Linked DNA regions of Homo sapiens: region 2 is linked to region 1. Evidence: promoter capture Hi-C in human tissues and cell types (Jung and others, 2019). All regions are on one chromosome and are shown on one strand. Each heading gives the region's core, a stretch centred on a gene start or on the middle of the fragment in contact. The rest is flanking DNA. Distances are from core to core; before and after follow the strand shown.

Region 1 (2,786 bases), core at 191-2,690:
TTTTGCGGTTCCAACATCACTCTTCTCTGATGCTGGCCTATTGCCATTGGCCAGCCCTGCGGACCTTGATCCAATCTCTCCTTGGGAAAAGTCCCTTCCCAGGCAAGTCCCTGAGCACTTTGGTAAGCAGATCCACCTACAGGTCACCTTCCAGACATGATCAAATATTCCCGTATCCTTAGAAGAATATAAATTAGATGCATGACGGTAACTTTGGAAAAGTTATGGGAAAAGATAGGCAGGGGGAAAAACAGGCTGAAATACGAGGTGAGGAGAGAGAATGAGGAGTGTAGGGTGGCTAGTGTGGAGCTTGCTCTTCTTACCCATATTTCTCATCTGATATTCTCTCTTATTTGTTTTTCTATTTTGCATTGTTTGTATTTTTATAAAGACAAAATTTCGAACTTTTTTGGAAACTTGGCAGATCATAAATAAAGGAATAAATAAGCAAGGTAAATTTTAGTGGCCATATTTGTATTTAGCATTCTAAAGACAGGAGTGGTCAAAGGTAGAGGCAAAACCAAAACAAAACAAACTTTTGACAAACATGGTTATGGCCAGAACTTGGAATAGCAAGAAAAGAGAATGTTAAATTAAAATATAACTCTCAAATGACAATTCACCCCTTACCTTCTCTGCTGATGGCAAAGTAGTTTGGCTGACTTTGTCCCATCAACGCCAAACCAAACCAAACAAAAACTAGGTGAAGGCAAGCGTCAGGGCTCCAACTCCTGCCGTGAGGAGCAAGCTCTGCGGCCCCGCAGGGTGGGAGGGTGAGAGAAATTCTCGAGGTGGGGGGCTGGGGAAAGTGAAGTGTGTCCCTCCATTGCAATAGGGACGTCACTGGGAACAAAGGCTCTGGAAAGTCGACAGCAACGGATACGGAGACGTGAAGGTTACCCTGGACGGGCCTTTCTGTGCATCGCACCCCAGACTACCCCCTTTGCTCACTCAATTCCTCCTCTCCAGGCTAAACTTGCTCTCTGCCGTCAATGTCCATTCTTTCCCTGGTAACCTCTCGCCCACGTCCCGCAGAGCCCACGCTCTTCCCGCTCTAGGATTCTCTTGCCCTCCTCCTTTTCCCTCTGCCTCTGGCCTCCTTTTCTCCTCTCTCGGCGTCTGCCTCCTCCTGCCTCCTCCTCCCTTTCTTTCCGGGAAGCCCCTCGCTTTCCTTCCCACCGAGCCCCGACCTCGGGGACCAAGTCAGGGGTCGGGGGCTGCAAGTGGATCCGCTGGAAGGGCCGGGCAGGGTGAGAGTTGGCGGGGCTGGGACCCGACGGGACGGAACGGGACGGGACCGGACGGGACGCGGCGCGCCCTGCAGGCGGCCCGGGGCGGGGAGAGCGGGTCCTGCCCCTCCCGGGCGGGCGCGCGGCCGGCCCGAGGGGCGGTCCCTGGGCTCCCGCTCGCCGCCGCTGCCGCTCCTCGTTCTGCTCCTCACTCCCCAGCGGCTGGAGGCCGGTACCGGCGGGCAGGAGGCGCCCGAGGATGTGCTGCTGGCCGCTGCTCCTGCTGTGGGGGCTGCTCCCCGGGACGGCGGCGGGGGGCTCGGGCCGAACCTATCCGCACCGGACCCTCCTGGACTCGGAGGGCAAGTACTGGCTGGGCTGGAGCCAGCGGGGCAGCCAGATCGCCTTCCGCCTCCAGGTGCGCACTGCAGGCTACGTGGGCTTCGGCTTCTCGCCCACCGGGGCCATGGCGTCCGCCGACATCGTCGTGGGCGGGGTGGCCCACGGGCGGCCCTACCTCCAGGTAAGCGCGTCTCCTCCCGGAGCCCGCCCGGCCGAGCCCGGTCCCGTCCGGACCCCAGAGAGGGCGCAGGTGCGGGTCGTCCCCGGGGCCCGCAGCTCTCTCTCACCTGGCGCAGCCCCGCGCCCCCGGCCACGCTCACTCTCGCCTCCGCGGGCAGCGCCTGCTCTCCCGGAGCCCCAGAAGGCGCGCGGTAGGGAAGCCGAGCACGGATGACCCCAGGCAGGTTTCCTTCTTTGAACACTTTCCTGTCCCCAGCGCCCCACTTAATAGACGCCCCCCCGCCTACACACCTGCAATACACCCCGCTTCATCCCTGATGGGAAGGGAGAAGGACCTAGGCTTTGGCTTTGGGGACCTAATGGGACAGCTCTCAGAGGAGGGAAGGGACAGAGCGCTTTAGTACGTCGCGGACTTGCTGTCTAGGAGTGGAAATCTCAGAACTTCCCAAATCGTGGCTATTTGGGAGCCTCCAGGCGCGGGGCTGATGTCAGCTACACCATTCTCCAGAAGAATGAAGGGCCCCTAAGAATCGCTTAGGGACTTTCCTATTCCGAGAGCTGTTCAGGAAGCCACATTTAGAGACCAAAATCGAAGGTCCCCAGGCAAAATATCCTATGAAGTGACAAAACTTTGGCTTACTTTAATAACCAATAAAGTTAATTTGACCGCTGCTGATTTACTTTGAAGGAGCCTAAGTAACCACCTTGCCTGTTCATGGGTGCTTTACTAAATAGAAAGAAAAAAAAAAAGGAAGAAGAAGATTGTGAGATGACCAGAATGATTAGGTGGCTAGGTTTCCTGGACATCCTTGCTTGATCGTGACCAACGTTTGGATGGCGGTGAACGTACACGCTTTGTTATTATAAAAATTCATCCGAACATACTGCCCTTTGCTAAAAGTCTTGATCCAGATGAAAACTCCGAATTGTTCTGGCATTGCATTAAGGCTTTGATAGTATTTAAATCAGTGTTCTCCGTGGATTTAGAGTGCGCTTCTTAGTAATTTTATCCCCAGGTTCTTTTCGACTGAAATA
Region 2 (2,786 bases), core at 119-2,618, 400 kb before region 1:
AATAAAATAAGTGAAAGAAACAAAAGCATACATTTCAGAAAGGAAGAAGTAAAACTCTATTCGCAGATGGCATAATTGTTTATGTAGAAAATCTAAAGGAATCTATACAACAATGACTAGAACTAATGAGGAAATTTAGCAAGATTGCAGGATACCAGATTAATATAAAAGTTCATTTACCTTTATATATAATCAGCAAATTGTTGGAAATTTAAACATAAAAATATCAATTTTAGTAGCTTCTAAAACTAAGGTATTTAGGAATAAATTTAACATGAGGCATATAATACCTACACGGTGAAAAATGTGAAAATGTTATGAAAGAAATATCTATATAATTGGAGAGATATACTATGTTCATGGATTAAAAGCTTAATAGTGATTCAATATCAGTTCTCTCCAAATTGATATATGGAGTAAAAAAAATACCAGTAAGAATTCCACCAGGTTGTTTGGAGAATATGAGAGCTAATTGTGATATTTCTCTAGAAAGTCAAAGTAACTAAAATATTCAAACCACTCTTGAAAAAGAAGAACGTACTTGGACACTTTTTACTGCCTGACTTCAAACACATTGGGTCTTGATATGCAATGGAAGCAAGTGAGTGGAAGAAGCTAGCACCACCTAAAATCTCTTCTGGTGAGAGTGGCAGCATTCTTGAGGAGTGGGGATGATGTTCTAATTACAGTGTCTCATACCTGGCTCCAGTGGTATTGGCAGCATGTGCTGGAGATGTACGTCCAGCAGGGTTGCAGTGCCATGCATACTGGACCGCTTAGGTGGTGTGACTTTAGGCACTTAGCCTCTAAGTGGTATGCATGATCCTCCTGATGATACTATGTGTTACCTAATAATCAATGATGAATTCATTTTCTGCTTAAATTAGCCAACGTTGCTTTGTTTTTTATTAGCAACAGGGAACTCTGACTGATAGAAATGCCAGGAAGAAAAATAGAAAGGTGAAAGGACAAAGGAGGACTAGGGCTGTATTTGGATAAGGGCATAAGAATGAACTTCTTAGCCGGGCGCGGTGGATCACGCCTGTAATCCCAGCACTTTGGGAGGCCGAGGCGGGAGGATCACCTGAGGTTGAGAGTTTGAGACCAGGCTGACCAACATGGAGAAACCCTGTCTCTACTAAAAATACAAAATTAACTGGGCATGGTGGCGCATGCCTGTAGTCCCAGCTACTCAGGAAGCTGAGGCAAGAGAATCGCTTGAACCTAGGAGGTGGAGGTTGTGGTGAGCCAAGATAGCACTATTGTGCTCCAGCCTGGGCAACAAGAGTGAAACTCCATCTCAAAAAAAAAAAAAAAAAAAAAAATGAATGAATTTCTTGGCCAGGTATGGTGGCTTACGGCAGTAATCCCAGCACTTTGGGGAACCAGGGCAGATGGATTGCTTGAGTCCAGGAGATTGACACCAGCCTGGGCAACATGGTGAAACCTCATCTCTATTATTAAATAAATAAATAATAAAAAAGAATGAATTTCTCTGAGGAGGTGGCATTTAAACAAAGACCATATTACTCCATTTTAGTTTGTAAAGAAACAAATATTCCATATGTGTATGAATGTCTAAATGAGCATATCAAACTATGAATAGATAATTGTGGTAGGCTGATAATGGATTCCAAAGATACGTCCACATCCTAATCCCTGGAACCTGTAAATGTTACCTTATATGAAAAAAAGGGTCTGTGCAGATGTGACTAAATTGGAGAACTTGAGATGAAGAGGTCATCCTGGATTATCCAGGTGGGCCCTAAATTCATTCAAAATATCCTTACAAGAGACTGGCAAACGAAGATTACACACAGAAAAGAAGAGGCACAGTGATCACAGAAACAGAGACTACAGTGATGTGGCACAAAATGCCAATAGTCACTAGAAGCTTCAAGGGGCAAGAAACAGACTCTTCCCTAGAGCTTCTAGAGGGAACATGATCCTGCTGACACCTTGATTTTGGCTCAGTGAAACTGATGTTGAACTTCTGGCTTTGAGGACCTTGTTTTAAGCTATCAAATTTGTGTTGATTTGTACAGCAGCCCCAGAAAACTAACACAATAATATATTTGATTATAAAACTGATTATCTGAAGGGAGAATGAGAGGTAGAGATTACAAGAGGAGCGGAGGATAGGGATATGAATAGACTTTATGTAAATTAAAAGTAGATGGACACATAAGAACATAGATTTTTTTGAGAACATAAAGAACAAGATTTGCATTAAACATGCAAGAATTATTGCAAATGGGGAGAGGAATGAGAATGGAGATACAAGGAAATAGATGGCAACAGAAATGAAACATTCAATTGGCAAGATACAGTTGGCAAGATTCAGTTGGCAAAAATTCAGATGGCAAGATACAGTTAGGGATACTTCCTATAACATGGAGGAAAAAAAAAGAAAAAATAATAACTAGCCAGGTGTGGTGGCACAGGCCTATAGTCCCACCTACTCGGGAGGCTGAGGTGGGAGGATCAGTTGAGCTCAGGAATTTGAGGTTGCAGTGAGCCATTATATGTCATGGTAGCTTGGGAAACAGAGTGAGACCCTGTCTAAAAAAAATAAAATAAAATAAAAGAGAGAAGAAAAAGAGAAATAAGTAAAAGGACCAGTTTGGGTGACCCAACATTCACATAAAGTGCAGTCCAGAAAGAAAATAAAAGAGGAAATGTAATCATCAAAGAAATCATTCAAGAAAATTTCCCTCTACAGATTGATGTTAGATTGAAGAGAAAGCATAGAGTTAAATGAGATTGGAGAAGCTGTCAGGGGTTAG

Evidence for each region. The method cuts DNA at HindIII sites, captures the fragments that hold promoters and counts their contacts. A contact is called where the count stands out against the background at its distance.
Region 2: a contact is called between a fragment that was not itself captured here and the fragment with the promoter of MOXD1 in region 1, in 1 of the 25 tissues and cell types used here (H1 embryonic stem cells).

What each region holds. Positions count from the first base shown.
Region 1 is chr6:132,400,129-132,402,914 of GRCh38, reverse strand. MOXD1 (monooxygenase DBH like 1) reads left to right here and starts at 1,440. Exons shown (of 12, transcript NM_015529.4): 1 at 1,440-1,752. The coding sequence starts at 1,489. RefSeq lists silencers at 1,227-1,366, 1,387-1,556, 1,687-1,736. The HindIII fragment of the contact is 14,314 bases long and covers 1-2,786 here.
Region 2 is chr6:132,800,836-132,803,621 of GRCh38, reverse strand. No RefSeq gene overlaps it. Among named protein-coding and RNA genes, the nearest start is that of SLC18B1, 3.6 kb to the right of the region's middle. The HindIII fragment of the contact is 3,907 bases long and covers 1-2,786 here.